Linked DNA regions of Homo sapiens: region 1 is linked to region 2. Evidence: promoter capture Hi-C in human tissues and cell types (Jung and others, 2019). All regions are on one chromosome and are shown on one strand. Each heading gives the region's core, a stretch centred on a gene start or on the middle of the fragment in contact. The rest is flanking DNA. Distances are from core to core; before and after follow the strand shown.

Region 1 (6,020 bases), core at 886-3,385, 160 kb after region 2:
GAGGCTCGTGATTGATTGGCTATGTCTGCCCTGGGTGGAGGAAGATTTGCCATCCCTTGCAGACTTGTCATCCCTTGTCTGACCTCACTTTACAGATAAGGAAACTGAGGCCCAGGGAGGAAGGAGCAGCCTCCCCAGATCACACAGGGGTTGGTGGCAGAGCCAGGGCCAGATGCTGGAGCCTGGCCTCTGAGTCCAAGGCTCATTCTATCCCTGCCAGTACTTCTTGAGCCCTAGCTGTGTGCTGAGTGCTGTGTGAGGTGTTCAGGGGAAGTTGGGATTATGAGACATCCCTCTCTCCCCAAGTGACCTTAATAGGCCTGTTGGAGAGTGAGTGAACTACCTTGTGACAACTGAAAACCAAAACCAGAGAGTCCCTTGTGATCTGGTTTGGTCTTTGAGGAAAGAGGAGACAGGAGTCAGGGAAAGACACTGGGCAGGAGGATGGAGAGGGTCAGGCCTGGGGTCGGGCCCTGGAAGGATGGACATGGGTCTCCCCAGCCCCACCCCACTGCCTCAGCCATGGGCCTTGGGCCTTGGGGCACCTCTGACCTGGGGTTGGGGGACCTGTGTCCAGGTGGCCCAGCTGCCCCTGAGCCTGAAGGACAATGGCTGGCACCACATCTGCATCGCCTGGACCACAAGGGATGGCCTATGGTCTGCCTACCAGGACGGGGAGCTGCAGGGCTCCGGTGAGAACCTGGCTGCCTGGCACCCCATCAAGCCTCATGGGATCCTTATCTTGGGCCAGGAGCAGGTAAGGCTCAGGCTGATATTGGGGCTGGACCTCCTAATTGTGCAGATGGGCAGACTGAGGGCCAGAGAGATCAGAGACCTGCCCAAGGAACTAGAATCTTGAAGGTGGGGCTAGAGCGTTGGCGGTGGGGCTTCAGTGGGGTTGAAGGTGGGGCTGCCTCGGGGACAAGAGCCTGACTGAGCCAGCCTGCCTGTCTTTTCTGCTCCCTCACTCCATGCCTCTCCTTTCTCTGCTGCTGTCTTGGCCCAGGATACCCTGGGTGGCCGGTTTGATGCCACCCAGGCCTTTGTCGGTGACATTGCCCAGTTTAACCTGTGGGACCACGCCCTGACACCAGCCCAGGTCCTGGGCATTGCCAACTGCACTGCGCCACTGCTGGGCAACGTCCTTCCCTGGGAAGACAAGTTGGTGGAGGCCTTTGGGGGTGCAACAAAGGCTGCCTTCGATGTCTGCAAGGGGAGGGCCAAGGCATGAGGGGCCACCTCATCCAGGGCCCCTCCCTTGCCTGCCACTTTGGGGACTTGAGGGGGGTCATATTCCCTCCTCAGCCTGCCCACGCACTGGCCTTCCCTCCTGCCCCACTCCTGGCTGTGCCTCCCATTTCCCCTCACCTGTACCCACACCTCCAGAATGCCCTGCCCTGCGAGTGTGTCCCCTGTCCCCACCTGAGTGGGGAGGAGCGTCTCAAGTGAACAGTGGGAGCCTGCCCACCTGGCACTGCACTGGAGTTGTCTCTTACCCCACCCTCCCTGCCCATCAACTGTATCTGATTTCACTAATTTTGACAGCACCCCCAGTAGGGTAGGATTGTGTATGAGGGGGACCCCACTATCTCAGTGGTGGGGGTGGCCGCCCGCCCCCTTGTCCCCCATGCAACAGGCCCAGTGGCTTCCCCTTCAGGGCCACAACAGGCTGTAGAAGGGGATGACGAGGACATCAGAGGTTAGACTTACCCTCCTCCCTCTTTCCACCAGCTGCCAGTCAAGGGCAGTGGGATCTCGATGGAGCCTCCCCCCCCCCCCACCCATGCCTCCCTCTTCCTCCTCTTTCCTCCTCTCTTTGTGTGTAGCGGTTTGAATGTTGGTTCCATGCCTGGCCCAGCCCCACCTCAGTCTCCAGGACATTCCTTTCCCAGCTCCAGCCTGGAGGGAAGGGGACAAAGACCCCAGGAGGCCAAAGGGCTGCAGTCACCCCTTGTGCTCACCCATAGTGATGGCCACTGGTATAGTCATCGCTCTCCCTCCATGCCAAGGACAGGACTTGGACCGCTTCAGCCTGGGCTGGGAGCAGCCCTAAGGTAGAGGCCTCATGGCCCAGGAGACCCCACCTCTGGCAGAGCCACATTACCTACCCTGTGCATGGTCCTGGGGCAGCAAGGAAGAAGCTCAGAGGGTGGGGAGAAGCATGAAGCAGTGAGCAGAGCACTGGGTGAGAGGGAGAAGACCTTGGTTCCTAGCCAGCCCTGCTAATGTGCTGTGTGGCCTTCTGTAAGTCCCTGCCCTCTCTGGGCCTGGCCTTCCTCATTCGTGAGCTGAGGCCCTCGCTTTGGTCATTTGCTCTCCAGATTGGGTGTGAGCTTCTCTGTGATTCCAGGTGGATATGTGGGGAAAGCTCTGGTGACCCTGGGCTTCGCAGGGGTAGATCCCAGGACTCGGCAGTGGATGGGATGCAGCCAGTCATGGGTTAGGGTCAGCAGAGACTCAGAGTCCAGGGCAAGGTTCAAGGCAGACTAACCTCATGCATGGATTGTAAAAAACCAGCTCCCTTTGGATCAACCCAGCCTGGCACCCTTGCCTGTCTGAGAGTGTCTCAAAGGGCTGATGGCTTCCTGGTCCCCTTGAGTCATCACCAGCTTCCCCAAGAGAGTGTCAGAATCTTAAGAGCTGAGAGGCCGGGCACGGTGGCTCACGCCTGTAATCCCAGCACTTTGGGAGGCTGAGACAGGCAGATCACTTGAGGTCAGGAGTTCGAAGTCAGCCTGGCCAACGTGGTGAAACCCCATCTTCACTAAAAATACAAAACTTAGCTGGTTAGGTGGTGCATGCCTGTAGTCCCAGCTACTCGGGAGGCCGAGGCAGAAGAATCTCTTGAACTGAGGAGGTGGAGGTTGCAGTGAGCCGAGATCACGCCATTGCACTCCAGCCTGGGCAACAGAGCAAGACTCCATCTCAAAAAAATAATAATAATCTTAAAGATGAGAAAAGCCACCCCATCTGGCACCACAGCTGCATCTTGCTTGTGAGAAATGGGGAAGAGTTCAGGGAGGACACGTGACCTGCACAGGATCACAGAGCATGGGGCAGAGCCAGGACTAGAGCTCAGGGCATCTGACTCCCTCTTCAGTGTTCTTCCCCCTCCATGTTGCCTGCCCCTGAAGACCTTTGAGTTCAGTCTACACCTAAGCAGGTAGACATCCGCGAGGTCAGATGCTTTCCAACATGACACCTGAACATCTTCCTTTATGCAACACCCAAACATCTTGGCATCCCCACCCCAGGAAGTGCGGGGAGGAGGTTATGATCCCTGGGCGCTTCGGCAGAATGGAGAGCTGAGGTGTCCCTCCCCTGCTAGTCACCTACCAGGTGTCTGAGCAGCTGCATGCTCCCTGGCTCAAGTGGGCACTGTACCTTTTGCCTGCCTTTTTGTTCCCTATCTCCACTCCCTGAGGCCACTTAGCCTGAGACATGATGCAAGAGCTGCAGGCCGGGGGGCTCAGTGCCATGGAAGCTACTCCAAGTTGCATTGCCTCCCGCGCCCAGATCCTGCTTTCCATTTCGAGAACATAAATAGATTGCCCAGCCCCTCCAGTACAATCCCACTGGAAGAAAAGGCAATGGCGGGCTTCAGCCAGACCTGCTGAGACCTAGGTTGCCACGGTAACAGCCAAAGACATCAACCCAAGTGCTGGGTCAAGTGTCTCATCATACTGGCACTGTTGCTGGGGTGACGGCAGAATTCAGAACTTCAATTTCAGTGACGCCAAGCTTGATGTGTTTCTGTTATTGTTTTGAAGAAGGTAGCTCTTGTGGAGGACTTGGGAGAAGGATGGGGTCTTAGGAAGGAGGTGACAGCACTTGCATGGTCACTTGAGCCCACACACACGCTCAACCCCAAGTCCTTTATGCTTTGTCACAGTGAAGATGAGACCTCTGACGTCCAAGCCTTGTTCCTGTGCTGCATCACCCACTCAGCCTTCCAAAGGGAACAGGAACAAATTTCCCCAGCACCACTGTTTGGGTCCCGCTTTTCCTATCTTCTGCTGCCCCTGAGCACATCCAAGCAGACAGGGAAAGAGGAGTCAGACATGGCCCAGTCACATCCTGAGCTGCTCCTGGCTGATAACCACGATGGAGCCCGTGTTTGTCCTGCCATCTGGCACTGCACTGAGTGTGGCACAGGCACCGTCCTGTTGATCTCACAACACAGTTCTAAGTTAGGACGTTCTTGGCTCCGTTAGACAGGTGAGGAAACTGGGGCACAGAGAGGTGATGTCATCTGCCTGGTGTCAATCAGCTAGCAAGTGATGGAGCCCAGATTTCAAACCAAAGGGGGTTACGTCCAGGGGCTGAGTTCCCACTCACCTGTGTAGAGTGCCATCTGGGCACCATTGCTCCAGACGTGTTCCGACCCCTTTCCCAGCCCACAGGGCTTGAAGTGAAGGAACAGAGGCAGGGGGTGGGCCAGCCCCAGGGCCAGGGTCCCCTTGGTGAAGCCGTGCCAGGGGGCTCAGCTGCTTCAGGGAATGTGTCCCTCCCACCATGGGCCAGAGCTTCAGCCCTTCTTTAGCTCAGCTAGAGTTCACAGGAGAGCCAAAAAAGAAAAGGAAGCTGAGCATCTCCCGAGTCCTGGGCAGGGAAGGGGAGGGAAATTGCTGCTTCTCCAACTCTTGCTTGGGGCCAAGCCCTGCACCAGTTGCTTCCCAGCTGTTATCTGCCAGATCTTCCCATCTTGTGGCATGTGGTGCCCCCACCAACATCCCAAGGGGACCAATCCCCTTGCCACCACTTTGCATCACCTGGGACCACAGATTTGGACAGGAAGGGCTCTGAGAAGAGGCCAAAGCCCTCATTTTACAGATGAGGAAGCTGAAGCCCGGGGAGGGGAGCGACCCTCAAGGCCACCCAGCTGGACACGGGAGACTTGAGCCCAGCCTTCTGACTGCATTCAGCCCTCTCTAGGACGCAGCAGCCTCTCCCCAGCACTGAGTCCCCCCTCCTTTGTGTGTCCCAGCACCCTTGGCCTGAGTAAACTTGGAAAGGGGCTCCCTCCCAGAGAAGGGACTACTCTCTTCACCCCTTTATTCCAGCTGCCTGCCACCCCAGACCCCCACCTCCCACCCTGACCCCCGACCCCTGGGTGGGGAAGGGGCTCACATGGGCCCAGGCTGAGTGTGAGTGAGCATGTCAAGTTGTCTGACACTGTGACATTAGTGCACCCTACTGACAACCCCTCCCCAGCCTTGCCCCTTTCTCCTCTCCCTGTTTTGTACATAAATTGACATGAGCTGCAACATGTGTGCGTGTGTGTGCGTGTGTGTGTGTGTGTATGTGTGTGTGATCTGTGTCATGGTTTTGTTACCTTTTTGTTTTTGTAAACTTGAATGTTCAAAATAAACATGCTGTTTACTCTGAGGCTCTTCTTTGCAGGGATGGGGCTGCCCTAGGGGGTGCTGGGCAGGAAGGAGGGGGCTGCTTTGGACAGGGCCACAGGGAAGCGCAGAGGAGACGCCTGATCCTGGACAGCCCCAGGGCCACACACGCTCCTAAATATGCCCCCCAGCTGACAAGTTCTCCCTGTTCCAGGCTTAGACACACCCCATTTCCCAGGATTTATGCAGGAAGGATGTAAAGAACCCAAGTCCCACATGGAACGTGTCCCAGTTCTGATAACTGGGCTTCGGCCTCATTCCCAATACCCCGTCCACATCTTGTGCTCTAGTTCAGGGATCCGGGTCCCTGACTTGTTTCCTGGGACCTAGTCTGTCCCAGTCACTTGCCTGGACCCCCAGAGTGTTTCATCTCTTGGAGTCCTAGGGAGGGGTGCCGGGGTGAGGGGCCCTGGTTGTTGTATTTCAGCCGCTCCCTTCCCCACACTACCCAGACTCCTCTGATATGTTTGGCCTCTAGACTGGACTCTAAGACCAGCATCAGGGTCAGCTACCCCACCCCACCCCTGCAGCACCTGCCCCATCCTTAAGAGGTTCTTGATTAGTCCCCAGCCCTCCCTGCACACACCATCTTAGGGGCACAAAGCCTTCATCCTC
Region 2 (6,104 bases), core at 3,605-6,104:
AGAGCGGGCAGTGGTCCCTGATCTGGGGCTTCATGTGCAGCCTCCCTGGCAGGCTTGTCTTGGCCCTGATGTTAGTCCTGGGTTTGGATTCTATTTCTATCTTCCAGGGCCCTTGTTCCAGGAGACACCTGCGCTGTGAGTGACCTCCCAGGCCCATCTGAGTGCAAGCCTCACTTTATGCTGCTTTCTCACCTGGATGGGAGGACATCTGGAGGGACCCCTGGATCCTGCCCTCAGGAATCATCCCAGGGACCCCCCCCGTCCCCAGCCACCCAGCAGCTATGTGGTAGTGAGGGAGAGTCAGGGGCAGGTGTCTGCCTTCCCCCATGCCTTCACACTCAGAGGCCACCATTGGAGGGAGGAATAGCGGGTGGGGGTGGCCCTCAGATGTCCCCCCAGGATGCCATGGGTGCCCCCACACTGAGCTCCTTCCTTCCACATCTCCTGCCCAGAGTTGTTCCCTGGAAGGCTGAGCTCTTGCCTCCTCTTGTCCCCATGTCACAGAAGGGCAGCGGCTGGTGTCCCAGGCCACCCTGTCTTGCTGTTTGTTCCTCTAGTCCAAGACCCAGGTGCCTTAGAGGCAGAAGGGGCCTCTTACTCACAGGAAGGGCCCAGGAAAGCAGGGAGGAGGCAGTGTGGAGGGAGCACCAGGAGTTAAGGGAAGGTGGTGTGACCATGAGGGCAGGCAGTGGGTCAAGAGGGAGGGCGGGAGGGCCAGGCCAACGGAGGCCTCAGGAGGATGAGCAGGTGAGAGGAGAGAGATGATGAGGCCAGAGGGAGACCCTCACCTGAGAATCTCCTTTAGCGTGCGGTGCAGGAATGCATAATTTTCATCGAATTTGTACCAAGGCATGAATTGCTGACCTTCATTGTACACAAAGTTTTCCCAGCAGTATGCAAATTCTGAGATGAAGAAGCGGGAAGCAGTCAGGCTCTCCCCTGACCCTGGCCTGTCCTCCCAGGCCTGGTCTCCTGGCTGTCAGTTGCAGTCAGTGCCAGTCCCACCCCTGCAGGCTGCCCTGGGACACCCCCAGCCATGGCATTGCAGATCCATCCATCTTTCATGCTGTTCCTCCCGCTCACGCTCCCCTGACCCCTCCACCTCTCACCTTCATAGTCCATGATCGTCACGCGGGCTCCTGCCTGACTCAGCCTGCAGAGCGCCCTTCGGTAATCTCTTTCCCAGTAGTAGTAGAGGCGGGCGGCAGAGATGGTCAGGGTGACATTGGGGTGCTCAGACAGGAATTCGGCCAGCTTCGCCACACAGTCCGGGCAGGGGGTCCAGGATACAAACCAGGTGATCTGGAAACACTTGTAAGCAGGCAGCTGGTTGCCACAGAACCAAGAGAGGAAGCACATTTCTGCGTGGTACTGAGGCTTGAAATACACCTGGGAGAGGAGCAGGGGGCAGGGGATGCTCTGAGAGGGGGAGCAGGAGGAGTGCAGGGGTGGGGCAGGGAGAGGAGGGGCCAGGACAGGAGCCCAGGGGATCTTGCCATTGAAGCTCCTTTCCTCCATCCCCCCTGTTTAGTTTGAGTGATTGTCTGCTCCAAAGCTCACGTTCAGTGTTAATGGCTATTGTAATGGCCTTAAGAGGTGGCACCTAGAAGAGGCTATGAGGCTGTGGGGACTGCACCTTTGTGGGTGCCACTGCTGTGGTTATTCAAGGGTGACTTCAGCCCCTCTTTCTGTCTCTTGCCCTCTATCTGGAAGGGCAGTGTGTCAGACTAAACTCCTGCTTCCTCTTGTCCCCGTGGCATGGAGCAGCTGTGACTCGACATCCCAGGCCACTCTGTCTGGAGCATCCCCTGAGCTTGTGGCAACAACCTTCACCCTCATGTGACTGTTCAGCTCACAGGCTGAGGCAGGAGAATCACTTGAACCTGGCAGGTGGAAGTTGAGAGTGAGTCATTGCACTCCAGCCCAGGCAACAAAGAGTGAAACTCAGTCTTAAAAAAAAACCAAAACAAAACAAAACAAAAAAACAGAACTGTGGGAAGTGGCCAGGTGCGGTGACTCATGCTTGTAACCCCAGCACTTTGGGAGGCCAAGGCAGGTGACTCACCTGAGGTCAGGAATTCCCCAGCCTGGCCAACATGGTGAAACCCAGTCTCAACTAAAAATAGAAAAAATTAACTGGGCGTGGTGGCAGCCTTCTGTAATCCCAGCTATTCGGGAGGCTAAGGCCGAAGAATCACTTGAACCTGAGAGGTGGAGGTTGTAGTGAGCCAAGATTGTGCAATTGCACTCCAACCTGGGTGCCAGAGCGAGACTCCATCTCGGAAAAAAAAAAAAAAAAAAAAAAGGAAAAAAAGAGAAAAAAGAAATGTGGGAAAAATACACAATTGAGAGCCCAGTGCTGGGCATTTTACTTATTGTTGTGTTTTCTGCATTTCCAGCTGCTTAGGTCCTACTGTAGCAAGGGTTAAAAAGAAAAGAAGAACAAGTTTTCCTCTGCCTAGCCAGCTCACTCCAACGACAGTTATAACACTGCCTGAAAAGTCAAGGCCAAAGGAATGGGCTCCAGACACCACCCCCACACCCCTCCAGGGCAAGGTTGAAGAAAATTTTAAAAAAATTTTTTAAAAAAAAGACAAATTCCTTTACTGTCTCTCCTTTCCAGAACCATTATAACTATATTTTACAAATGTCTGTATTTAGCCAGTTCCTGTTTTCCTTTTGATGTAGCTGCAAGGCCACCAGCTATAGAAGGCCCCAAGTTATGCTAAGTCATCTGTTATGCTATAGATTATGTGACCTGTCACTGTTTGATTAATCGCCTTTGTTCTGCTTCTGTAAGTTTGCTTATAAATACCTCAGTCTGTCTTTGTTAAGGGCTCAGCCTTTTTGGATGTGAGTCTGCTGAACCAGTGCACCTAAATAAATCCTCCTGTCTCACCCATATCAGTCTCTCCAGTCCTCTAATTCCTGCAACACTGCCTGTGATTCGATTGAAGTTTGGGTGGTACCTGGCCTCGAAAGACCCCTGTGTCCCAAAGGAGATTTGAGCGGCCCCTCTTTATTTTCACTTCATAGCACAGCCAAGTGTAGCTCCGACCATAGAGGATGGGTTCGTTTTCAAAGTTGTCGTAGAATGTGTCTCGATACATCCGCTCCATCGGATTTCTGAAGGCACAAGAGAGAAACCGGCCCATGCAGGGAGCCCTCCCGGGAGTCCTCGGGGCTCATGTCCACTGAACACAGCTCCCAGGATGGCCCTGGGCCTCCCCGACCCCTCCACAGCCCTGAGAATTTCTGCTGCCTTCCCAGGCAGGAAGACTGAGGGGAGAGGAAGAGGAGGGGATGCTGGCAGGCGGGCTGGGGTGATCTCTCCCAGCTCGGGTCCAACTCTGGCCTTTCCAGGGGTACATTCCCCACCCTCCTAGTATTTCTGCCAACCCACTCCCCAACCCATTAGGAGAATGCAAAAGAGAATAAAACCCTTCACCCCTAAAAAATAGCTTTTAACCTTTCAGCTCAATTCCTTCCTGATGTTTCACTCTGCGTGTTAACATTATTTTAAAATCATGGTAGAACTGAATTCTGAGGCCCAGGCCACTCTTCTAAGTGCTGAGCGGGTGTGAGCTCACGTGAGGCTACCCTAGGCCTGCAGGGGCCATTCCCATCTTACAGAGGAGATGCCAGAGGCACAGAGAGGCGGGGTAACCTGCCGAGGCCACAGAGCTGGGGACGGATGGAGCAGGGGCCCCTTTCCAGGCCAGCCCTGTCCAGCCTCTGCATCACGGATCCTGTAGGAGAAAGCTGTTGGGGACTGGGCTCTCTTTTCACTAAATTTTAAAATCAGAGCATTTCTCCTCATCATTGCACTTTTTTCCCACATTCTCACATTCCATGTTACTGATCATGTTCTTTCTTTTTTTTTTTGATGAAGTCTCACTCTGTCGCCCAGGCTGGAGTGCAGTGGCATGATCTCAGCTCACTGCAACCTCCACCTCCCAGGTTCAAGCAATTCTCCTGCCTAAACCTCCTGAGTATCTGGGACTAGAGATGCGCCACCATGCCTGGCTAATTTTTGTATGTTTTTTAGTAGAGACGGGGTTTCACCATATGGGCCAGGTTGGTCTCAAACTCCCGACCTCATGATCCGCCCGCCTTGGCCTCCCAAAGTGTTGGGATTACAAGTGTGAGCCACCACGCTCAACCACTGGTCATGTTCTAAAAGATGAAGAGTGACCTTGGAGTGGAACCTGTCTGGGGACATCTGCTCACCATGGAGTCATCCTTGGATGACACGATTTATCATGTGCTTCAGAGACCATTCCTACCCCCGCACCCTCTCCTAAGACTTTGTATTTAAGCAAAGTAATTCTTACAGAAATTTCATCAAAACACTGAGAACAAAAATGCCTGATTGCTCCAATTACCCTTTGGTTCAATTCTCCCAGTTTCTGAGCTCAGGAGTGGCAGGAAGCACACAGAGGGAGCACCCTCCCAGGGCGGGGAGCACCAGTCCGGGCATGACTTTAAGGGAGAGTCTCAGCACGGGGCCTGGGCTGGTGCAGGTAGGGGAGGCAGCCCATTCAGAAGCAGCAGTGGGGTGACCACACAGCAGGACAAAGAGCCTGACTGGGATTCGTGTGGCAGGGGAGCCAGAGGGGAGGGAGCCCAGGGCTGGGGCAGGGGCGGGGGGAGGCCAGGGTTGAGGCCCAGCAGGACCACCAGGCAGGAAGGGGCAGGAGGGGCCCAGCAGGCAGAGTGGGCAGCGGTACCTGATCTGTGGATTCATGTTCAGCCTCTTAGATACGCTTGTCCCTGTCCCGCTCTTTTTTTGAAGCTCTGTGGTTTCACTTCCTGCTTACAGCGTCCTTGCAGTTGGACAGCCCTCCTTAAAGTGACCTCCCAGGGCCTTATGAGTCATGGCCCCTCCCCATTCCTGCTCAGGCATTGGTGTGGGAGGCCCCGGGGTGCTTCATGTTTCTCTGGCTCTGGCTCTGGCTCTGGTTTTCCCCGGACCCTTCCCGCTGGCAGAGGAACCTCCAATAAAGACAGGCTGCTCTGTCTTTATCTGTCCTGGGCAGGACCCAACGGAATTGCAAAGAGAAAGAGAAAGGCATTGCAGCCTGAGCCTGGGAGGCGGGTCCAGACCCAGCTGAGAGAGGGGCAGGTGCCCCGTTGCCTGGTGGTTGGGCAGGCTGGAGCCCCCTCTCCACCACCCCCTCCCCAGCCCTAATGTGTGCCCAGAGCTTTGAGCAGCACCACCCTGTTGAGTGAGGGGAGGTTTTGAGACTCCAGTGGGGAAGGAAGTGTGGACTCCGCACAGCACAAGGGAAGGCTTAGGTGTGCCTCGAGTTCCCAGCTGTGTGCTGGGTCCATGGCATGCGTCCCCTCTTCCAACCTCCCAGCTTCCAGAAGGTGGGGGGCAGGTCAGCCCCTCAGAGGGACTGCGATGTCTGCGACACCAAGGAAGGGAGAAGGGTGTCTATAAACAGGCTCACTGCCCAGGGACCTCTCAAGGGGTTCTTTGTGGGCCAAGAAAACGGGAAACACATACACACACAGCTTTCTGATTATTTAAGTCCATCTAAGCATATTTTGGAGGAATGAATGTACATTGAAATAATCTTCCTAAATAGATTCCTTTAAGGGGAGTTTGTTCCAGCTGGAGAAGTTGTGCTCTCTGTAGAGGCTCTGAACTCCTCTGGCTACGACGACGGGAATGCAGACAGGGAGGAGGATGCGTGGGTGGTAGGGGGAGCAGCAGCGCCCCTACCTGCACAGAAGCTTGTCCAACCTCTGCACAAAGCGGACTCCCAGTGGTTGTTTTTGGAAGGTGAGTTTTCTTTTCTTTCTTTTTTTTTTTTTAAATCTTCCCCAGTATAAATCTTTTAATTTAAAAGTAAATTTTATTGTCGAAAATGCAAACTTGGGGAGGGCAGAAAGATCACACACAGGGCTGTCACTTCACACCTGGGGGGTTGCTGGGAGCCGTCCAGAAGCGCTCCTCACTTCCCAGACGGTGCGGGGGCCGTCCAGAGGCGCTCCTCACTTCCCAGACGGTGCGGGGGCTGGGCAGAGGCGCTCCTTACTTCCCAGACGGTGGGACAGCCAGGCAGAGGCGCTCCTCTGGAAGGTGAAGTTTTCTG

Evidence for each region. The method cuts DNA at HindIII sites, captures the fragments that hold promoters and counts their contacts. A contact is called where the count stands out against the background at its distance.
Region 1: a fragment that was not itself captured here is called in contact with the fragment with the promoter of APOBEC3B in region 2 in 2 of the 25 tissues and cell types used here (lymphoblastoid cells and spleen).

The regions. Positions count from the first base shown.
Region 1 is chr22:38,817,820-38,823,839 of GRCh38, reverse strand. NPTXR (neuronal pentraxin receptor) reads left to right here. Exons shown (of 5, transcript NM_014293.4): 4 at 578-757; 5 at 1,007-5,388. The coding sequence ends at 1,231. Among named protein-coding and RNA genes, the nearest start is that of NPTXR, 23 kb to the left of the region's middle. The HindIII fragment of the contact is 5,623 bases long and covers 1-4,946 here.
Region 2 is chr22:38,981,097-38,987,200 of GRCh38, reverse strand. It overlaps APOBEC3B (apolipoprotein B mRNA editing enzyme catalytic subunit 3B), which reads right to left and starts at 4,854. Exons shown (of 8, transcript NM_004900.5): 1 at 4,731-4,854; 2 at 2,970-3,126; 3 at 1,110-1,389; 4 at 789-903. The coding sequence starts at 4,747. RefSeq lists silencers at 511-706, 4,671-4,720 and enhancers at 1,941-2,230, 1,273-2,472. The HindIII fragment of the contact is 18,696 bases long and covers 1-6,104 here.